Linked DNA regions of Homo sapiens: regions 1, 2, 3, 4, 5 and 6 are each linked to region 7. Evidence: promoter capture Hi-C in human tissues and cell types (Jung and others, 2019). All regions are on one chromosome and are shown on one strand. Each heading gives the region's core, a stretch centred on a gene start or on the middle of the fragment in contact. The rest is flanking DNA. Distances are from core to core; before and after follow the strand shown.

The links. The method cuts DNA at HindIII sites, captures the fragments that hold promoters and counts their contacts. A contact is called where the count stands out against the background at its distance.
Region 1: a contact is called between a fragment that was not itself captured here and the fragment with the promoter of ZNF564 in region 7, in 1 of the 25 tissues and cell types used here (lymphoblastoid cells).
Region 2: a fragment that was not itself captured here is called in contact with the fragment with the promoter of ZNF564 in region 7 in 4 of the 25 tissues and cell types used here (IMR-90 fibroblasts, dorsolateral prefrontal cortex, hippocampus and 1 more).
Region 3: a fragment that was not itself captured here is called in contact with the fragment with the promoter of ZNF564 in region 7 in 3 of the 25 tissues and cell types used here (IMR-90 fibroblasts, dorsolateral prefrontal cortex and hippocampus).
Region 4: a fragment that was not itself captured here is called in contact with the fragment with the promoter of ZNF564 in region 7 in 2 of the 25 tissues and cell types used here (hippocampus and lymphoblastoid cells).
Region 5: a contact is called between a fragment that was not itself captured here and the fragment with the promoter of ZNF564 in region 7, in 2 of the 25 tissues and cell types used here (aorta and lymphoblastoid cells).
Region 6: a fragment that was not itself captured here is called in contact with the fragment with the promoter of ZNF564 in region 7 in 2 of the 25 tissues and cell types used here (hippocampus and lymphoblastoid cells).

What each region holds. Positions count from the first base shown.
Region 1 is chr19:11,758,364-11,761,594 of GRCh38, forward strand. No RefSeq gene overlaps it. Among named protein-coding and RNA genes, the nearest start is that of ZNF441, 7.0 kb to the right of the region's middle. The HindIII fragment of the contact is 5,499 bases long and covers 1-3,231 here.
Region 2 is chr19:11,945,895-11,948,913 of GRCh38, forward strand. ZNF700 (zinc finger protein 700) reads left to right here. Exons shown (of 4, transcript NM_144566.3): 2 at 1,287-1,413; 3 at 1,620-1,680; 4 at 2,382-3,019. It also overlaps a transcript of ZNF69 not described here. Among named protein-coding and RNA genes, the nearest start is that of ZNF763, 18 kb to the right of the region's middle. The HindIII fragment of the contact is 4,250 bases long and covers 1-3,019 here.
Region 3 is chr19:11,843,859-11,847,270 of GRCh38, forward strand. No RefSeq gene overlaps it. Among named protein-coding and RNA genes, the nearest start is that of ZNF439, 3.2 kb to the right of the region's middle. The HindIII fragment of the contact is 5,747 bases long and covers 1-3,412 here.
Region 4 is chr19:11,687,325-11,690,600 of GRCh38, forward strand. No RefSeq gene overlaps it. Among named protein-coding and RNA genes, the nearest start is that of ZNF823, 50 kb to the right of the region's middle. The HindIII fragment of the contact is 6,716 bases long and covers 1-3,276 here.
Region 5 is chr19:11,876,530-11,879,571 of GRCh38, forward strand. No RefSeq gene overlaps it. Among named protein-coding and RNA genes, the nearest start is that of ZNF69, 9.7 kb to the right of the region's middle. The HindIII fragment of the contact is 3,977 bases long and covers 1-3,042 here.
Region 6 is chr19:11,980,778-11,983,770 of GRCh38, forward strand. No RefSeq gene overlaps it. Among named protein-coding and RNA genes, the nearest start is that of ZNF433-AS1, 5.3 kb to the right of the region's middle. The HindIII fragment of the contact is 4,224 bases long and covers 1-2,993 here.
Region 7 is chr19:12,549,335-12,552,762 of GRCh38, forward strand. ZNF564 (zinc finger protein 564) reads right to left here and starts at 2,148. Exons shown (of 4, transcript NM_144976.4): 1 at 1,996-2,148. The coding sequence starts at 1,998. LINC02926 (long intergenic non-protein coding RNA 2926) reads left to right here and starts at 2,392. Exons shown (of 2, transcript NR_187485.1): 1 at 2,392-3,428. RefSeq lists enhancers at 785-1,287, 1,946-2,055, 2,121-2,415, 3,199-3,428 and a silencer at 1,636-1,715. The HindIII fragment of the contact is 29,302 bases long and covers 1-3,428 here.

The sequences.
Region 1 (3,231 bases), core at 178-2,677, 790 kb before region 7:
GTGAATAAATTTAAGCCAGGATTATTCTTTTTTATTTATTTATTTATTTATTTATTTTGCTTGTTTTAAAATTTTCCTGTCTTTTTTTTTAGACGGAGTCTTGCACTTTCGCCTGAGCTGGAGTGCAATGGCATGATCTCGACTGACTGCAACGTCCTCCTCCCGGGTACATGCGATTCTCCTGCCTCAGCCTCCTAAGTAGCTGGGACTACAGGTTCACACCACCACGCCTGGCTAATTTTTTGTATCTTTAGTAGAGACAGGGTTTCACTATGTTGGCCAGACTGGTCTCGAATTCCCGACCTCCTGAACTGCGCCCCACCCCCCCACCCTTTCAAAGTGCTGGAATTATAGGTGTGAAAAATTTCCTGTCACTTTAAGAATTATTCCAAAGACATATCTTTCTCTTCCTAGGGCAAATTACCTTAGATTTCTTCTGGGAATTTTGTACTAATCTTTAATGTTTTGGTCTTCCCATTTCATTCCTAAAATGTAGACCCAGAAGAATCACTATATATTATTATAAAATTACATTGAGGCCGGGGGCGGTGGTTCACGCATGTAATCCTAGCACTTTGGGAGGCCGAGGTGGGTGGATCGTCTGAGCTCAGGAGTTCGAGACAAGCTTGGGCAACACAGTGAAACCCCGTCTCTACTAAAAAATACAAAAAAATATTAGCCGGGCATGGCGGCGTGCGCCTGTAGTCCCAGCTACTCGGGAGGCTGAGGCAGGAGAATCAGTTGAACCCAGGAGGCAGAAGCTGCAGTGAGCCAAGATCGTGCCACTACACTCCAGCCTGGGTGACAGAGCAAGACTCCATCTCAAAAAAAAAATAATAATAAATAAAAATAAAATTATATTAAAAATGTAAGATTTTATGTAGACTGCAGTTATGGATGATTTATTCACCAAACCACAGTTGACTCTTCAACAACACAGGTTTGAACTGCATAGATCTCCTTACATACAAATTTTCTTCAGTTTCTGCTACTACTGAGACAGCAAGACCAACCCCTCCTCTTATTCAGCCTACTCAATGTGAAGACAATAAGGATGATAACATTTATGATGCTCCACTTCTACTTAATGAAATAGTAAATATAGTTTTTTCTCCTTGTGATTTTCTGATTAACATTTTTCTCTGCCTTAGTTTATTGTGAGAAAACAATATGTAATGCATATGACATATAAAATATGTGTTAATTGAATGTATATCTTACCAGTAAGGTTTCTGGTCAACAGTAGGCTATTAGTAGTCAAGTTGCGGGGGAGAAAAAAGTTATTTGAAGATTTGTGACTGCATTGAGGGCTGGTGCCCCTAATCCCTGCATTGTTCAAGGGTCAAACGTATTTCTTTTATATTCTAAATCTTTGAACAGCATTGGTGACGAAGAAACAAATATTCGTAATTGACTAAGTAAAGACATGATGTCCCCCTTACCTATACAGTCTAGGTTCCTGATGGTTTCCCGTAGCACATCTCTGTAGAGACTCTTCTATGATGGACCCAGCAAAGCCCACTCCTCCCAGGCAAAAGATCAAAGCCACATCCTCAAAGGCCACTGAGTCCTGAAACACCCGACACGTGCAGAGGAGGAAAGCTGAAACTGACAGCACTGGGAATCTGTACTCACTACATAAATGTCACATGATGCTGTGGTGTCCAAACATTTATGCAACGACACGGTAATCCAACTCTTACCCTCTTTCTAAACTCATTTTCTCCCAGAATGCAATTCTAATGCTAGAATTAAACGTGTTTGGTAAAATAACAGTCGAATTATAAAATGCCACTCCTTGGTGAGTTAAAGGAGTGACATTTATTGCCTAGATCACCCCTAATATCTATGTGTACAGGATGTTTGTAATTCCTGATGTGACAAAGTCCTCCTACCTAATGGGCAGAAGAGTTAACATCAGCTGTCCTGAGACCGCATATTGTTACAAATGCTTGCTCACAAAGTTGAACCTTTCACTATATCTAGGAACTAAATTTAGTTAGGGGGCTTCACCAACATAAGCGATAATGGAGGATGAGTGTCCCTAAACTATGTAAAAAATATGGTATCTGCTGAACTCCTATGTTCCCTCTGAGAGTTCAAACTTTTGTGATATGCTTGGCAGAGGGAGCATACCTGATCATTCACTACTAGGTTTTTTGCTTGTTTTTGTTTTTGTTTTTGTTTTTTTTGAGACAGAGTCTTGCTCTGTCTCCAGGCTGGAGTGCAGTGGCGCAATCTCGGCTCACTGCAACCTCCGCCTCCTGGGTTCAAGCGATTCTCCTGCCTCAGCCTCCCGAGTGGCTGGGATTACAGGCGCACACCACCATGCCCAGCTAATTTTTGTATTTTTAGTAGAGACAGGGTTTCACCATGTTGGCTAGGATGGTCTCGATCTCTTGACCTCGTGATCCACCCACCTCAGCCTCCCAAAGTGCTGGGATTACAGGAGTGAGCCACCGCGCCCGGCCATTCACTGCTAGGTTTGAATGTTTGTCCCCTCCAAAATGCTTGTTGAAACATAATCGCCAATGTGGCACTAATGAAAGGTGAGGCCTTTAAGAGGTGAGTAGATCTTAAGGGTTCAGACCTCATAAATAAATTAATCCATTCATGAATTCATGGCTTACTGAATTAATGAGTTATCTCAGGAGTGGGACTGATGGCCATATTAAAAAAGAAGGGAACCTGAGCTACCACATTCAGCCCATTCTCCATGTGATACCTTCAACCACCTAGAAACTCTGCACAGCCCCCATGACCAAGAAGGCTTTCACCACATGAAGCCCTCTTACTTGCTAGGTTCCAGAACTATAATAAATAATTTTTTTTGTTGTTTTTTGGCTTTTCTTTTTAGATGGACTCTTGCTTTGTTGCCCAGATGGGAGTGCAGTGGCACGATCTCGGCTCACTGCAACCTCTGCCTCCTCCTGGGTTCAAGCAATTCTCCTGTCTCAGCTTCCTTAGTAACTGGGACTACAGGTACATGCTACCACACTTGGATAATTTTTGTATTTTTAATAGAGACAGGGTTTCACTATGTTGGCCAGGCTGGAAGAAATATTGTTTTTTAAATAAATTACTCAGCTTCTACTATTCTGTTATAAGCAACAGAAAACATACTAGGATAAGCATGAAAAAACCACTCACCACTGGGTCTCTTATGAGCTTTTTTTGGTAGATAACATTTCCCACATTTTGTCACAACTTGTTACTTAAAGGATAAAGCCC
Region 2 (3,019 bases), core at 306-2,805, 600 kb before region 7:
GTACAAGTGCAGGGCAAGCAGAAAGCTTGTTTTGCCGAGACTCGTGTGGCTTCGATTATATCAATAGTCTTTTTGGATAAGGGGGTGACCGGGGTGGTTACTACTGAATATTCAGCACCAGTATCGACAAGAAACTCTATGTCCTTGTCCCTGACTGTCATCCTGACCATGGGCTCGTTAGGGGCACCTGAGCCTGGTCCCCCTTAGTCCAGTAGCCCTTCTGCCAGATTAAACAAGGCCCTTTCATCCTTGCCTGAGACCTCTGGCTTGGAGCCATTTTGTTTCTTCTTTAACTGGGGGCACTTGTCTTTCCAGTCTTAGATCGTAAATGAGCTGCCAAGGGAGGGGTTTCTCCCGCAGCTTCACATTCTCTCTTGTCTGTTCTGGGTGGTCTAGGGGTGTATCTGTCCAGAGGAGGCACAGGTGCTGTGGGCTCAGGAGTGGGGAGTCTCTCTTCTAGGTAAGGACGGGGGGCATTGCTGTGCCATTTCCTGCCATGGGTCCTCTGACATTGGGTCAGATAGAACTTTAGGAGCTGACTTCCCTTGGCGGGTGGGGAGAGATCCCTCATTGGCTATCTGTCCCTTTGCCACTAACACTGCTGCTGCCTGTCCTCTCAACCACTGTGGGGGGTCTAAAACCAGCTGTAACTAAGTGTCTGTGTACAGGAACTTGTCTGGATACCCTGGCTTACAGGTAATCTTGTGCCATACCTTTGAAATAAGGGACCTATCCAGGCTTCCTTCTGATGGCCAACCCACCTCTAATGCTGGCCAGTCTGTCTCACACAAAGTTCTAAGTTTTCCTGGTGTTATAGTAACTCCATAGTCTCCCTTAAATCCCTTTTTGAAATTTTTTATAACATAGTTCCTAGTGGGGTGGGCTTACTTTGTGTCTGACCCATTTTTCTTTCGAGACAAGACAACACTCACACTACAAGAGGGAAAGGGTAAAGGTCACTCACGCGTGGTGGTACATGCCTATAATCCCAGCTACTCGGGAGGCTGAGGCAGGAGAATCGCTTGAACCCCGGTGGTGAGCCAATATCACGCCATTGTACTCCAGCCTGGGCAACAAGAGTGAAACTCTGTCTCAAAAAATAAATAAATAAATAAATTGCTTTATGGAAGAAAGTAAGTATAGATGGAGAGAAAGGGATCTGATAACCGAAGCAGGGAATAAATGTTTGGAGTCCACAGCATCCTGAGAACTTCTTGGGAATAGAGTCTAGGCCTCCAGTGCTGTCACTCTCACCCATCTTCCTCTACACATGTGAGATGTTTCAGGACCCAGTGGCCTTTGAGGATGTGGCTGTGAACTTCACCCAGGAAGAGTGGACATTGCTGGATATTTCCCAGAAGAATCTCTTCAGGGAAGTGATGCTGGAAACTTTCAGGAACCTGACCTCTATAGGTAAGGATGACAATATTCCTTCCGTCAGTGCATTAGCAAACCAGTGTTTCTAGCTCATGAATGCTGTTGAGTGATTTTGAACATAGACAGGAAATACCTTGATGAATAAATGAGGCATGGCTGCAGTAAATCATGGGCACAGAATCTAATAATTTTTTCACAATTTTATACTGCTTCAGGACTATTTTTCTGTGTCTGTATTTTAGGAAAAAAATGGAGTGACCAGAACATTGAATATGAGTACCAAAACCCCAGAAGAAGCTTCAGGTAATTTGCATTTCCAAGAGAAAGCAGTGTCTCTCTGCACAATCTTAGAATATGAGAATATGTTGAAGAGAAGTAAAACAAAGAACTAAATCCAGCATCAAATTCATTTCTTCTTAGAATATTTTCTCAAAAAACATATATTTAAACGTGACTGAGGCTGAGGGCTCACTCCTGTAATCCCAGTCCTTTGAGAAGTGGAGATAGGAGGATAGCTTGAGGCCATCAGTTCCAGAACAGCCTGTGCAACATAACGAGACCACATATCAACAACAGCAAAAAATTAGCTGGGCATTGTGGTGTGTATGCATCGGTAGTCCCAGCTACTCAGGAGGCGAAGGCAGGAGGATCACTCGAGACTTCAGGAGTTAAAGGCTGCAGTAAGCTATGATGATATCACTGTACTCCAGCATGGGCAACAGGACAAGAACTGGACTCAAAAGAAAAATGACATACAGTATTTAGTAATTGTAAAATAGTTTACATGGGAATACTATTAAGAAGCCCCTTATGAATATTTTTTTAAACAATAGGTATGGCTGGGTCATCTTGTAGAACATGTCCAGTCACCTTCAAACGATTCAGACAGGGCAGAAAGCCTACACTTTGATGGACAGTGTTAAAAATGCAAGTGCAATACTTGTTGATTAATATAGAAGTACTTGTAAACAAACCCTTCATGATGTGTTTCTCATGTTTTACAGGAGTCTCATAGAAGAGAAAGTCAATGAAATTAAAGAAGACAGTCATTGTGGAGAAACTTTTACCCAGGTTCCAGATGACAGACTGAACTTCCAGGAGAAGAAAGCTTCTCCTGAAGTAAAATCATGTGACAGCTTTGTGTGTGCAGAAGTTGGCATAGGTAACTCATCTTTTAATATGAGCATCAGAGGTGACACTGGACACAAGGCATATGAGTATCAGGAATATGGACCAAAGCCATATAAGTGTCAACAACCTAAAAATAAGAAAGCCTTCAGGTATCGCCCATCCATTAGAACACAAGAAAGGGATCACACTGGAGAGAAACCCTATGCTTGTAAAGTCTGTGGAAAAACCTTTATTTTCCATTCAAGCATTCGAAGACACATGGTAATGCACAGTGGGGATGGAACTTATAAATGTAAATTTTGTGGGAAAGCCTTCCATTCTTTCAGTTTATATCTTATCCATGAAAGAACTCACACTGGAGAGAAACCATATGAATGTAAACAATGTGGTAAATCCTTTACTTATTCTGCTACCCTTCAAATACATGAAAGAACTCACACTGGGGAGAAGCCCTATGAATGTAGCAAATGTGATAAAGCATTTCATAGTTCTAGTTCCTATCATAGACATG
Region 3 (3,412 bases), core at 414-2,913, 710 kb before region 7:
TATTGGGTAGAAAGAGCAGGGAGGAGGAGGTAATGGTTGGTCAGCTGCTTGATTTATCACAGGTTCACATGATTACTTTCTTTGTACAACAGGCTTCAGATGTGCCTGTAGATAATCACAAGAAACACTGCGCTTGGGGAGTAACTGCCCTCAGCATTCTTTCTGGGTGGCAGACGTAGTTTGTCAGTTTGCCAACAAGCTGCATTCATGAGAAGAGTTTGCTGTTTGCTCATTAGCCTCCAGTGGTATACTGAGTTGATCAGGACCCCCATTCTTTCAGCCTCCAACACTGTCTGATTACATTGTTTCCAAAGCCTCTTTTATGGACTTCTGTTTACCCCTTGGCGTGTCCTGCATTTACTCTCCTCAAAATGTGTACTTAGAGGCCGGGTGCGGTGGTTCATGCCTGTAATCCCAGTACTTTGGGAGGCCAAGGCAGGAGGATCCCTTGAGCCCAGGAGTTTAAAACCAGCCTGGGCCACACTGGGAGACCCTGTCTCTAAAATAAAATGTATACTTACAAGCCCTAAACCCCAACAGGGTCATATTTGGACACAGACCTTTTAGGAGATCACATACATTTATAAAGGAGAGCCCTCATAATGGGATTAGTAAGAAGAGAGAGAATTCTCTGTTTCTCCAGCATGGGAGGACAAAGCAAGAAGGCATCTAGCTGTAAGCCAGGAAGATAGCCTTCACTGGGAACAAAATTGCTGGCAGCAAGATTTTGGACTTCCCGCACTCCAGAATTGTGAGAAACAAATGTTTGCCGTTTAAGAAACTGAGTCCATGGTATGAGTCCATGGTATTTTGTTATACCAGCCTGAGCTAAGTCACCCCAAGAGTCCTCACATTAACCATATACTGTCGTACAAGTGCTGCATTTGGATCTACCTGGAATGTCTCCAAGTCTTCTACTTTTCCTCTTGGACCCATTGTGAGAATAGGTTTTGCTTCATAGGCAACTGCTGGTGATAGTAGTGATAGCCCATAACAACTAGGGAGTTAAAGAAACTTCCTTTCTCTCTCTCTCTCTCTCTGTTTTTGAAATGGAGTTTTTGCTCTTGTTGCCCAGGCTGGAGTGCAATGGCACGATATCGGGTCACTGCAACTTCTGCCTCCTGGGTTCAAGTGATTCTCCTGCGTCAGCCTCCCGAGTAGCTTGGATTACAGGTGTGCACCACCACGCCTGGATAATTTTCGTTTTGTTAGTTACAGACGGGGTTTCACCATGTTGGCCAGCTTGGTCTCGAACTCTTGACCTCAGGTGATCCACCTGCCTTGGCCTCCCAAAGCGCTAAGATTACAGGTGTGAACCACTGTGCTCGGCCTCTTTTATATGTGTGTGTATATATATATATTCTCTTTTTTAATAAAAGTAAATAGAAACTAGGTCTTACTATGTTGCCCAGGGTGGTCATAGCCCAAGATTTTGGGCTCAAGCGATCTACCCGCCTCGCTCACCCAAAGTGCTGAGATTAAGGCGTGAGAAACTGTGCCAGGCCAAATGAAAGAAACTTAGTGGGAGGCCTGGCACAGTGGCTCACACCTGTAATCCCAGCACTTTGGGAGGCTGAGGCGGGTGGATCACTTGAGCTCAGGAGTTCAAGACCAGCCTGGACAGCATGTTGAAACCCTGTCTTTACTAAAAATACAAAAAATTAGCCGAGCATGGTAATCCCATTCTCACAGTCATAGAAAGGTTCTTTTTTAAGGATTCTACCTACTTGAGAGCATCATATACTGCCAGCACTTGTTCACTTCAAGAGTGTCTGGTTTCATCTCTATGACATAATTACAACCAAAATCCTAAAGGAACTGATTTACCACACTGTGTTTGCCATAAGGCCCAATTTGTACCTGCAGCAGCAGCTGTATCATCCCAACTCACAGCTCTACCCTCTAAAGGTGTGCCTGAGGCTTGTGATCCAGTCCATAGGGAAATATCACTACCTGCTGTGTTTTATAATTGGACCATCCAAGGGTTGTCAGGGTTTTCCCAGAGAGTTTTGTGGGATTTTTTTTTTTTTTTGAGACCAGGTCTTGCTGAAGTTAGTATGGCAGCATACTAACACATTAACCTGTCGAAAGCTTCCTGCAGAGCTGTGTCCCAGTCTCAAAGTGCCCCTTTCTAATAATTCTATATATTGGTATCAAACTTTGGGCTAAGTGTCAGATAAATGCTCTCCAATAATCCAAAGACCAACAAATGTCTGGATTTCTTTTTTCTTTTTTGTTTTTTAAGAGACATAGTGTGGTTCTGTTTCCCAGGCTGGAGTGCAGTGGTGGGATCATATAGCTCACTGCAGAAACTCCTGGGATCAAGGGATCCTCCTGCCTCAGCCTCCCAAGTAGCAGGGAATAAAGGCACATGCCACCATGCCCAATTGTTTATAAATTTTTTTGTACAGATGGAGTCTCACTGTATTTTCCAGGCTGTTCTTGAACGCCCAGGCTCAAGTGATTCCCCAACCTCAGCCTCCCAAAGTGCTGAGATTACAGTCATGAACCAATGCACCCAGCCCTGAAAAGGAAATATTTCGAATGGAAATTCAAAGGGAGAACATCTAATGTTCAAGTTGATGTCTATAGAGCAGTTAACGGGAACTATCATTTAGGGTCTGTGGGATTCTAGGACACTAGGTATGAAACAAATATGAGGAAGGTCAGAGAACAAGCTGACTTAATGATTAATGCTGAAGGTGCTGCCAGCTTGGTTTAAGTTTTCCTCCTCCCTTCCTCCCTGATGAATTTGATAAAGTTTAAAGGGATGGTTTCACCAGGGGCCTTTTACATTGACAGCAAGGAGGTCATCCGCCTGGTAAATCCTCAGTAGTCCAAGCCTCTTACATGGCTAGAATGATCCAGTCCATAAGGAAACGTCACCACCCTCTGTGTTTTACAATTAGACCATCCAAGGGGGTCAGGGTTTCCCCAGGGAATTTGGTGGGATTTTTTTTTTTTTGAGACCGTGTCTTGCTGAAGTACAGTAGCCTGATCAAAGCTCACAGCAGCCTCAAACTTTGGGGCTCGAGTAATCCTCCTGCCTCAGGCTCCTGAGTAGCTGAGACTAAGGGTACACACCACCTCTCCAGGCTAATAAAAAAAAAATTATGGAGATGGGAGTGTCTCACTTCACTGCTCAGGGTGGTCTTCAACTTCGGGCTTCAAGTGATCCTCCCACTTTGGCCTCCTAAAATGTTGGGATTGCAGGTGTAAGCCATGGCACCCGGCCTCCCAGGCTGTTGTTGAAAGGTCTTTGCAATCTCTAAGAGTTCTGCAGCAGTTTATTCCCTGACAGTGAGAGTCTCATCCTTTCACCCCATTTTGCAGCAGTAGTTGGGTGTTCACTTTTCTTTCCATAAGGAAGCGAGCTTGCCAGTGACCCTCATCCCCCTCCTCATCGATGACT
Region 4 (3,276 bases), core at 641-3,140, 860 kb before region 7:
TTTCTTCTCCATTCTGCCCTACAAGTCTCAATGATCCTATTTAAAATATGCATTTGGCTCCTCTTTAAAATTGTTCTATCTTGTTTCAACAGATGCCTCCAAGAGACCCCCACTAGGTTCTTGCTGACCTAATACTTGAGATTTTAAACTCACTCCAGCTGGCCACTGAAACCAACTTAACCCAAGAGATTTTGGCTAAAATTTAACAGGTTCCTGAGAACCTCTTATAAGTAAATGGCTATAGTTGCCCAACTGGCCACTGCCCTGCCATTAGGATCCCTGCATGGGATGGACCCACAGCAGGTCACTGGTACCATGATAGAACACACACAAAAACTTATGAATGCTGTCTGTGGACGGGTTAGAGTCAGTCCTTCACACTGGCTAACTGGGCCTAAGTTTTAAAAAGAGCTAAGCCGCCACTTGTTAACTAGGGGTCACAAGCACTGTGAGTTTCCTGAAAACCAACACCTTTTTAACTTTGGGGGCTCACCTGAGCTAGTCAATCAGAGCTCAGCTGTATCAACCAATCAGAACTGAGTTTCAAGTTTCAGATCTTCATTTGCATAAAAGCACTTGACTAGGAACCCAGATGGGAACTTTTGCTATAAAACCTAAGCTTTCCCTTGTTCTCTGGAACAAATAATGTTTAGGTTGCAAACTCCTTATGCCTTTTCCCCAGAACTATGTAGAAATAACGCCTTCTAAAATGTGATCTTGATACCAGGGAACTCCTTTTTTTTTTTTTTTTTTTTTTTTTTTTTGAGTCGGAGTCTTGCTCTGTTGCCCAGGCTGGAGTGCAGTGGCGTGATCTCAGCTCACTGCAAGCTCCGCCTCCCAAGTGGCTGAGAGACAGGTGCGCACCACCACGCCCAGCTAATTTTTTGTCATTTAGTAGAGATGGGGTTTCACCCTGTTGGCCAAGATGGTCTCAATCGACCTGACCTTGTGATCTACGTGCCTCGGCCTCCCAAAGTGCTGGGATTACAGGCGTGAGCCACCGCACCTGGCTGATACCAGGGAACTCCCAGAGCAAAGCACTAAATACTTTCATTCCTCTAAGGTCTATGACTCTAATCAGCAGAAAGTAGTTAGAGCAGTTATCATTCCTTTTCCTTCAAGACTTAGGAATGAACATAATAGGAGGGATTTGTAACCACAACAGATTATGTGGTACAACTTCTATATAACAAAGCTGAGTTTTCAGTTGCCATGGACCCAACACTCAAGGTCACATAATCTGAGCATGCCCAGATGAACCAAATGTGTAACCATGGGTGGAACCTATATGCTTGGACTGAGGTGTGGAGATTAAAGTAAAAAGTAGATGCTGGGCACGGTGACTCATGCCTGTAATCCCAGCACTTTGGGAGGCTGAGGTGGGTGGATTGCCTGAGCTCAAGAGTTCAAGACCACCCAGAGCAACATGGTAAAACCCTGTCTCTGTGAAAGATACAAAATATTAACCAGGTGTGGTGGCGCACACCTGTAGTCCCAGCTACTTGGGAGGCTGAGGCAGAATTGCTTGAGCTCCAGAGGTGAAGGTTGCAGTGAGCGAGATCATGCCACTGCATTCCAGCTTGGGCTACAGAGTGAGGCTCTGTCTCAAAAAAAAAAAAAAAAAAAAGATACCACATGGTGGAATCTAGGATCTAATCAGGTTGGGCCCCGGTATCATCCCATGGCAGGATCCAATCGAGTCACATTAACCTGGCATGAGATCATTGCAAGATGCAGTGAGTTCATGTCTTATTACCCCACGCTTATAAAACTTGCCAAAGCCCCCAGCTCAGGGAGACATATTTGAGCATTTCTTCCTTTCTCCTTGCCAGTCAAACTTGTAGTAAAGCTTTTCTTTCTTCAAAAGCTGGTGCCATGCTATTGGCTTGTGTGTACATCTGGAAGTGAGCCAATTCACTACTTGCTAACATAACAAAGAATCAGCAACTGTGAAGATGAAACAATTAAAATTATCCAGTCTGGGCCAGGCGCGGTGGCTCACACCTGTAATCCCAGCACTTTGGGAGGTCCAGGTGGGTGGATCACCTGAGGTCGGGAGTTCGAGACCAGCCTGACCAACATGGAGAAACCCTGTCTCTACTAAAAATACAGAATTAGCTGGGTGTGGTGGTGCATGCCTGTAATCCCAGTTACTTGGGAGGCTGAGGTAGAAGAATAGCTTGAACCAAGGAGGTGGAGGTAGCAGTGAACCGAGATTACGCCATTGCACACCAGCCTGGGCAACGAGAGTGAAACTCCATCTCAAAAAAAAAAAAAAAAAAAAAGAAAGAAAAAAATTACCAGTCTGTGGAAAAGAAAGAGGAAAGAAATTGAGAGAATGTGTTACTAGTATACCTGCCTTGCCAGTCATGTTAAAGTTCTTCAGAGCGAAGGAAACTGATACAGGTTAGGAAAGCAGATGTTTCAGAAATAAAACTTGTTAGAAAATAATTAAATGAGGGCACAAATATGATTATCTTTTCTTCTCCTTCATAGATAAATGTTTGTTCAAATGAATATCAACAATGTATTGGGTGGTTATAGCTTCTAACAGGTCAAATGCGTGACAGTGATATTATATGGGATTGGAAAGAGGAATTCAGAACACTCTTAACATATTGGCACTACCCCAGACACCAGTATAGTGTTATTTGAAAATGAAAGTCCATTAGTTGCAAATGTATACTGCAAACTATGGAATTCACTAATAAAATTTAAGAAACAAGTAGACTTACTACACTAATAGAAGCAAGCAAATGGAATCATATAGAACGCTCAATTAAAAGGCAGAAAAATAGAGCAAGTAGAAAAAAAGCACAAGTACAACAAACAATATATATGAACATATTAATCTATGTCAATTACCACTTTGAATGTGTATTTTTTTTTTTTTTTGAGATGGAGTCTCGCTCCATCGCCCAGGCTGGAGTGCAGTGGTGCCATCTCGGCTCACTGCAAGCTCCGCCTCCCGGGTTCACGCCATTCTCCTGCCTCAGCCTCCCGAGTAGCTGGGACTACAGGTGCCCACCAACACGCCTGGCTAATTTTTTATATTTTTAGTAGAGACGGGGTTTCACCATGCTAGCCAGGATGGTCTCAATCTCCTGACCTCGTGATTCATCTCAGGAAGACAAGATGGGTGGATCACTTGAGCCCAGGAGTTCTCAAGACCAGCTGAGCAACATGGAGAGACCCTGTCTCTACAAAAAATAAATACAAAAATTAGCCAGGCATGGTAGCACACGCCTGTAGTCCCAGATGAGGTGGGAGGATTGC
Region 5 (3,042 bases), core at 67-2,566, 670 kb before region 7:
CGATGTCCCTTCTCTCTGCCATTCTGAAATTGGACCTCACTCCTTTGTGACTCTTGCTCCCCATCTGCTATGTGATAAAGTCCTGTCTGATTACATCGTCTCCAAAGCCTCTTTTTGGACTTCTGTTTACCCCTTGGCATGCCCTGCATTTACTCTCTTCAAAATATATACTTAGAGGCCGGGTGCGGTGGCTCACGCCTGTAATCTCAGTACTTTTGGATGCTGAGGCAGGAGGATCCCTTGTGCCCAGGAGTTTAAAACCAGCCTGGGTCACATAGGGAGACCCTGTCTCAAAAACAAAATTTATAGTTACAAGTCCTAAACCCCAACAGGGTCATATTTGGACACGGACCTTTTAGGAGATCACATACATTTATAAAGGAGGGCTCTCACAATGGGATTAGTAAGAGAGAGAGAGAACTCTGCCTCTCCAGCATGTAAGGACAAAGCAAGAAGGCATCTAGCTGCAAGCCAGGAAGATAGCCTTCACTAGGAACAAAATTGTTGGCAGCAAGATTTCAGACTTCCCAAGCTTCAGAACTGTGAAAAACAAATTTCTGCTGTTTAAGAAACTGAGTCCATGGTACTTTGTTATACTAGCCTGAGCTAAGTCACCCCAAGAGTCCTCACATTAACCATATACTGTCGTACAAGTGCTGCATTTGGATCTACCTGTAATGTCTCCAAATCTACTTTTCCTTTTGGACCCATTGTGAGAACAGGTTTGCCTCATAGACAACTGCTGGTGATATTAGTGATAGCCTACCAACTAGGGACTAAAAAGAAAGTTTTTCTTTTTTTTTTTTCTTGCTTTTTTTTTTGAGATGGAGTTTTTGCTCTGTTACCCAGGCTGGAGTGCAATTATGCAATCTCGGCTCACTGCCAGTTCTGACTCCCAGGTTCAAGTGATTCTCCTGCCTCAGCCTCCCAAGTAGCTGGGTTTACAGGTGCGTGCCACCACATCCAGATAATTTTTGTACTGTTAGTTAGAGATGGGGTTTCAACATGTTGGCCAGGTGGTTCTCGAACTCTTGACCTCAGGTGATCCACCTGCCTTGGCCTCCCAAAGCACTAGGATTACATGCATAAACCACCACACTCGGCCTCTCATTCATATGTGTGTGTATATTCTGTTTTTAATAAAAATAGAGACTAGGCCTATGTTGCCCCGTGTGGTCATAGCCCAAACTTTTGGGCTCAAGCGATTTACTCACCTCAGCCACCCAAAATGCTGGGATTAAGGCATGAGAAACTGTGCCAGGGCAAATGAAAGAAACTTAGTGGGAGGCCAGGCACGGTGGCTCACACCTGTAATCCCAGCACTTTGTGGGGCTGAGGCGGGTGGATCACCTGAGCTCAGGAGTTCAAGACCAGCCTGGACAACATGGTGAAACCACATCTCTACTAAAAATACAAAAAAATTAGCTGGGCATGGTACTCCCATTCTCACAGTCATGCAAAGGCTCTTTCTTAAGGATTCCACCTGCTGGAAAGCATTATATACTGCCTGCACTGACTCAAGAGTGTCTGGTTTCATCTCCATGTCATAATTACAACCACAATCCTAAAGGGACTGATTTACCACACTGTGGTTGCCGTAAGTCCCAAATTGTACCCTCAGCAGCAACTATATCATCCCAAGTCACAGCTCTACCCTCTAAAGGTGTGCCTGAGGCTTGTGCCTGCCATACTAACACATTAACCTGTCCAAAGCTTCCTTCAGAGCTGTGTCCCAGTCCCAAAGTGCCCCTTTCTAAAACATTGGGCTAAGTGTCAGATAAATGCTCTCCAATAATCCAAAGACCAACAAATGTCTGGATTTTTTTTCTTAAGAGAAATAGTATGGCTCTGTTTCCCAGGCTGGAGTGCAGTGGTGGGATCATAGCTCACTGTAGAAACTCGGGCTCAAGGGATCCTCCTGCCTCAGCCTCACAAGTAGCTGGGAGTAAAGGCACATGCCACTATGCCCGGCTGTTTTTAAATTTTTTGTACAGATGGAGTCTCACTCTATTGCCCAGGCTGTTCTTGAACTCCAAGGCTCAAGTGATCCTCCCACCTCAGCCTCCCAAAGTGCTGAGATTACAGTTATGAACCAATGCACCCAGAACTCAAAAAGGAATATTTATAAGGGAAAATATCTAATGTTCAAATTGTTATGTATAGAGCAGTTAACGGGAACTATCATTTAGGGTCTATGGGATTCTAGGACACTAGGTATGAAACAAATATGAGGAAGGTCAGAGAACAAGCTGACTTGATGATTAATGCTGAAGGTGCCGCAAGCTTGGTTTAAGTTTTCCTCCTCCCATCCTCCCTGATGAATTTGATAAAGTTTAAAGGGATGGTTTCACCGGGGGCTTTTTCCACTGACTGCAAGGAGGTGATCCCGCTTGGTAAATCTTCAGTAGGCCAAGCCTCTTACGTGGCTAGAATGATCCAGTCCATAAGGAAATGTCACCACCTGCTGTATTTTACACTTTGACCATCAAAGGGGTACAGGGTTTCCCCAGGGAGTTTGGTGGGATTTTAATTTTTTGTTTGTTTGTTTTGAGACAGTGTCTTGCTGAAGCGCAGTACCCAATTATAGCTCACAGCAGCCTCAAACTTTGGGGTTCAAGTGACTCTCCTGTCTCAGCCTCCTGAGTAGCTGAGACTGTAGGTACACACACTTCTCCTTGGTAATTAAAAATTTTTTATGGAGATGGGAGGGTCTCACTTCACGGCTCAGGGTGGTCTCCAATCTCGGGCTTCAAGCGATCCTCCCACTTTGGCCTCCCAAAATGTTGGGATTACAGGCGTGAGCCATGGCACCCGGCCTCCCAGGCTGTTGTTTGAAGGTCTTTGCAATCTCTAAGAGTTCTGCAGCAATTTATTCCCTGACAGTGAGAGTCTCATCCTTTGACCCCATTTTGCCGCAGTAGCTGAACGTTCACTTTTCTTTCCATAAGGGGGCGAGCTTGCCAGTGACCCTAATCCCTCTCCTCATCGATGACTTCTTTGTCATCAGAGCCTTCCTCTTCATAAATTCCCACGGAATCCAAG
Region 6 (2,993 bases), core at 224-2,723, 570 kb before region 7:
ATGAAGCTGCTCTTCAGAAACGCTTATTTAAAACTCCCTAAGGTCAAAGTCCAGGCATCACGGGATGCAGCATCAATCACTGACCAAACCCTGTCTGTGTGTGGAGATGACATACCCAGTCCCAGATAATGTATCCACATCAGTGAAGGGTGGAATCATTGATTGTCAGATCACACAGCATGATTCACAGCAGGGAAGACAGGGCAGTGACAGAGGTGGGGGCACCTGAGCAGGTACGGTGGCTCACACCTGTAATCTTAGCACTTTGGGAGGCCAAGGAGAGTGGATCACTTGAGGTCAGGAGTTCAAGACCAGCCTGGCCAACATGGTGAAACCTTAAGAAATAGATAAATTAGCTGGGCATCGTGGTGTAATCCCTGTAATCCCAGATACTCAGGAGGCTGAGGCAGGAGAATCGCTTGAGCCTGGGAGGTGGTTGTTACACTGAACTGAGATCACACCATTGCACTCTCCAACCTAGTCGACAGAGCAAGACTCTGTCTCAAAATGAAAAAAACAAGAGTTGGGTGCACCTGAATCCAACCCCTGCCTTATCCTCCCTTGAAGGCCAAATACACCCTGACACTTTTAACCAAACAGTAGAAACAACACCATCCACTTGACCCCAAATGTGACTTTCCACAGGATGCAAGCACAATGTTGGAATGGCCAATGACAGTGACAATGAAAGTGCAGGGTGAGGGTGATGAACAGGACACACTGGAGAGCCTGACATTGGCCTAGACTATGGAGGTGTCTTGATGTTTCACAAAAAGCCCAAGGACCAACCCAAAGAGACACTGGAGCACAGGCCCAAAGGGTGTTCATATGCCAGGAAGGCTACTAATTTTAGAAGGCAGTGATGGTGCCTGTTTGAGTCCGGATGCTTTATAACTTCTGCTTTTCTGCATCTGCTTAGACAAAGAAATCTGCAGTTTTTGAGTTTCAGTGTTTAGAAGTAAGTTATTTTAGCAATCTACACACTTGTGGTTTATTCTGAGCTAACTTCAGACACACAGCTACAGATAGGGAATATCACGAGTATTTCCAAGGCTAAAAGTCTTCATGAAGTCAGTGGGACCCTCTCATGGGAGGGTTTTAAGACCCACAATCAAAAAGGTGGGGAAACATTAGAGTGGAAAGAGGGCAGCAGGTCAGGGGCCTTCCCCAGAGGTCTAACACACCCAACATTATTACCCTGGATGAAAACCAATACATATCATAACACCACACACACTCTTCAATGTTTCACAGACAAAATGAAATGTATTCAAAGCTAAGCTTCCAGAATTCCACTTTACACAATAAGGTTTTAATATCACTCTGTGTTGATGTTAGGCAATTACTAAATAGCATTTTCTGGTTATCTATGGAAAATACCTTGATTTCTGGGATATGAAAATGCTCATTTTTAGATATGCTTGTTTTTGAACTTTTTTTAATAAAATAAGGTGAGAAAACAGGAAAAAAATTTTCAGATCAAGGAACTTAGGCGAATTAATAGGAGAAAAGTCATACAAATTTATTTAACATGTATATATGGGAGCCTTCAGAATGAGGACCCACCCAACAATAAGACAAAAAAGCTTACATACCATTCTGAGGCCAGGAAAAATGCAGACTTGGCATGGCCAAAAAAATTCCAGGTTTGGTGGGGAAGTCATTTTTAATGGCAAGACAGATTATGCTAAAGGAAAGGAAGAAGCTTGGCTAGCAAAGGAGACCTTGTTATGTAGATGAAGGCTCCCTCAGAGAGAATAGGTGGGAAATGCTGCTTTTCAGACTTTTATTTAGAATTTTAAGTAATAGAGTCAGGATTATGCTGTGTTGCCCAGGCTGTTCTCTAATTCTTTGTCTCAAGCAGTCCTCACAGCTCAGTCTCCCAAAGTGCTAGGATTCCAGGCATGAGTCACCATGTCCAGACAGGGTTTGTCCCCTTGTAAAGAATTATTCATTGCTGGGCACAGTGATTCACAGTGACGTCTGCCTGGCATCTGCCTGTAAAGGAAGCATGGCACCAGCATCTGCTCAGCTTCTGGTGAAGGCCTCAGGAAGCTTTCAATCATAGCGGAAGGTGAACGGGGAGCAGGCAGTCACATGGCGAAAGCAGGAGTGAGACAGAGAGAGTGGTGTAGGAAGGTGCAGCTCACTAGAACTCACTGATTATCACAAAGACAGCAACAAGCCATGAGAGAAACAAGCCATAGGTCCCCCTGACCCAAACAACTCCCATCAGGACTCACCTCCAACACTGGGGATTGCAGTTCCTCATGACATTGGGTGGGAACATACATTCAAACTATCACGTGACAATATTACTTCCCTCAGTTTATTAAAGAACAAGTGTTTCTAGCTCTTCAGTGCTGTTCAGTGATTTGGAATATGGACAGGGAAAACTTTGATAAATCAGGAATGGCTGCAGTGAGCCATGAACATAGAATCTAATAATTTTTAAACTAATTTTATAATAGCTGGGCATGGTGGCTCATGCCTGTGGTTCTAGCACTTTGAGAGGCCAAGGTGGGTGGATGACTTGAACCCAGGAGTCTGAGAACAGCCTGGGCAACATGGTGAAACCCTATCTCTACAAACTTTTTAGCCAGGATGGTGACATGCACCTGTAATCCCAGCTACTTGAGAGGCTGCAGTAGGAGAATCACCTGAACCCAAGAGGTTGAGGCTGCAGTGAGCTGTGATCATGCCATTGCACTCCAGCCTGGGTGATAGAGTGAGACCCTCATCTCCAAAAAAAACCCCATAATTTTATAATCAGGACTATTTTTTATGGATCTGTATTTTAAGAAAAAAATGGAAAGACCAGATCATTGAAGATCAGTACAAAAATCTCAGGAATAATCTAAGGTAAGTTTCCCTCACAAGATAAAGCATTCTCTCTCTAGAAAATCTTATACTGCCTGAAAATGTTTTGGTTTTTTTGGAGACAAGAGTTTCACTCTTGTTGCCCAGACTGGAGTGCAATGGCTCAATCGCGG
Region 7 (3,428 bases), core at 898-3,397:
ATTCCAATGTCAGGTGAGGTCACCCTATCCCCTAGGACATCTCCCAGCCCCACCCTGGCTCACTGAGTGCTCAGTGACCAACCTCCCTGAAGACAGTGAATTGTGCCCTGCTCACTCTGCCCCAAGCGCATTTTAACTTTCAGGTTCTCGCACCATTTCAATGGGGCAGGTTTTCCTTCTCCTTTGAGATAGTTTTCCTCCCTTCACTAGACTAAAAACAATCCAGAGGTCAGGAATCATTTGTGTCTTTTCCTCTCAGTAACAGCCTAAGATTGGGTAACCATCAATGTGTCCCTAAGGAACGGAAACTGGGGTTGAGGAAGAAAAGCTGAGCGTCCCAAAGGGTAAACTTTTCAGAGGAAGGGGATACCGGGAGACTCCTCCCACCTCAGGGCATACAGCTGCTCCCGTGAGAGGCCCCACCCCTACACCTTAAGCTGTCCTCTGGGAGGAGTGACCCAGGGGTTGATAATCACTAGATCCTCCAAGAGAAGTGGCAGCTGTGGGTATCCTGGGTCAGGCCCAGGCAGTTCTGAAAATCAGGACCAGGAAAAGATAGAGGGCCACATCACCTTGTAAAGTTTCCAAAGGGGAAACTCCACCCAAAGACATTCTGATTAGGCGTCGGGGCTTAGGAAAGATAAAAGGAGGGGAAGCACAAAAATTTTTTTACCACGGCCGGGCGCGGTGGCTCACGCCTGTAATCCCAGCACTTTGGGAGGCCGAGGCAGGCGGATCACCTGAGGTCGGGAGTTCGAGACCAGCCTGGCCAACATGGAGAAACCCTGTCTCTACTAAAAATACAAAATTAGCCGGGCATGGTGGCGCATGCCTGTAATCCCAGTTACACGGGAGGCTGAGGCAGGAGAATCGCTTGAACCCAGGAGGTGGAGGTTGCAGTGAGCTGAGATCGCGCCATTGCACTCCAGCCTGGGCAATAAGAGCGAAACTCTGTCTCAAAAAAAAAAAAAAATTTTACCGTAGAGTGTCAGGTTCTTATTCTCCGTTTCCCTCTCAGGTTACAAGTACACAAACAAGAGGCCGGGCGCGGTGGCTCACGTCTGTAATACCAGCATTTTGGGAGGCGGAGGTGAGCGGATCACCTGAGGTCTGGAGTTTGAGACCAACCTGGCCAACATGGAGAAACCCAGTTTCTACCAAAAATACAAAAAGTAGCCGGTCGTGGCGGCGCATGCCTGTAATCCCAGTTACTCAGGAGGCTGAGGCAGGAGAATTGCTTGAACCCGGAAGGCGAAGGTTGCAGTGAGCTGAGATCTTCCCACTGCACTCCAGCCTGGGCGACAGAGCGAAACTCTGTCTGAAAAGAAAAAAAAAACAACAAACAGAAAACAAATCCTTTCAAAAGAGTATGGTGAAAGAAACTATAAACAACTAAAATACTGTGTCTTAAATGTCAAACAAAAAACAGCTGATAATGTTGATTTGGCGAGGGGAGGTCACCTTTGGGAATGCGGGGAAGGAACCGGAAATTTAGGCATTTATTTCCAGCCCCAGAAAAAGCTAGGCTAAAAAAAACGGGAGTCGTAGGTTTGAGATTCTTTTTCCAGTACGTTTGGAAGACTCGGAGGAAGACCAGTCCCCCGGAAAAAAAGACGATGTACTGGGAAGGCCACAGCCCACAGCTCTTCCCATGCACGAACCGCACACCCGAGACGGGATTCCGCCTTATGACCCTCCCGTGTCCCAGTACAAACAATCTGGAGAGAGGCGGGGCTGCGGGCGCGGAGCTGCCCAGACAGGGCTCCGAGGCCGAGGCCGCAGTCGCCGCGCAGGGACGGGACAGGACGCCTGGGGTACTGGCTACGGCCCAACCCACCCTGCGGCCGAGGGGACAGAGGGCCGAGCTGCGCCAGGGAACTCGGGTCCCAGACCCTGGAGTCGCTGCAGGGAGGCCAGGGTGCTTCCACAGCCGGTTCCGGCCGGTTCCCACAAGCCCCTCCCCCAGTCTCCAGGCGCCCGGCCCCGCACACGCACCATTTCCTGGCTTCCAGGGTGTCCCGGGGTCCTGCCTACGGCTCTCTCCGGCCTGTGCAGGTCCCAGCGCGCCAGACGCTGCGGTGGAGCCACCGGGGCCACTGGAGAAGCGGAGACCGGAACCCAAACGCAGCGGACACGAAACAGGAAGACCCCGCGGAGTTGTTGAACATTGCCCCTGTCCCCCTTGCAGAGTTCCTGATTGGATGGTTTGCAGGTTCCCGCCCCAGTGCCCCTGATTGGGTGATGATTCAAGTCCTGCCCCCTTGGTACTGAGTGACAGGAGAAGCAATGCGGTATGTGGCTGAGTAAAGACAGATTGACAGGGTCTTGGCCACTGCCCTTCGCGGGCCGGGCTTCCTCCTTCTGTAACCTTCTGTGCCGGGGAGGATATTTGCATTTAAGCAGAAAGTGTTTCAGGCTCTGCAGAGGTGACACTGGCGTGTTTCTGCACTCAGGGTGCCCTTCCTGCCTTTTCCTCCCGGACACAGAGTCACAAGTGTGCACAGGGAATGACAGACTCGGCGTCCAGTGGAGCCATCCCCTGGCCTCGGAGTAGGAGGCGCGCCCAGGCCAGGCCAGACCACAGTGTAACAGGAGGGAGGAGGGCTTGCTTCTTTCAGGCAAGAAAATTAAAACGGACAAAGAAATAAAAGTATTAAATGTATAGGAAAAACTGGAGTTTTTATGACAGCGATCATCTATAAAGAAACCAAGAGAAGTAAGCAAACATTTGAACTAGCTCAGACAAGCAGCCTGCTTCACCCGCAGTTCACAAGGAAAACCCACAATCATAACGTTAAAAATATTCCCAAGCGCCGGGCGCGGTGGCTCACGCCTGTAATCCCAGAACTTTGGAAGGCCAAGGTGAGAAAATTGCTTAAGGTCAGGAGTTCAAGACCAGCCTAACCAACATGGTGAAACCCCATCTCTACTAAAAATACAAAAATTAGCCAGGCGTGGTGGCAGGTGCCTGTAATCCCAGCAACTCGGGAAGCTGAGGTACGAGAATCGCTTGAACCTGGGAGGGGGAAGTTGCAGTGAGCCGAGATAGCGCCATTGCACTCCAGCCTGGGCGACAGAGCGAGACTAAAAAATGAAATATGAAATGAAATGAAATAATGAAATGAAGAAATGAAATATAAAATAAAATAATCCCAAGCTTGGGACCCAGACTCTAACTGCTGAAATGGAACCCCAGTGTGGATCAGAACCTGGTGATGAGACAGGGACACTTAAGAATTCAACTTTGGGAGCTCAAGGTGCCCTCCAGTCCTCTCCTCACAGTGTGGAAACACTCTTTCCTTCAAAACCTTCATTTGTACCAGCAGGAAACTCTCACCCGGAGTCAATGTAAAGTCGTGACCTAAATAAATTGTCATGTTCCCAAACCTTTTCTCCAGGGGACAATGCAAACAAGTTTTTCACTGAGT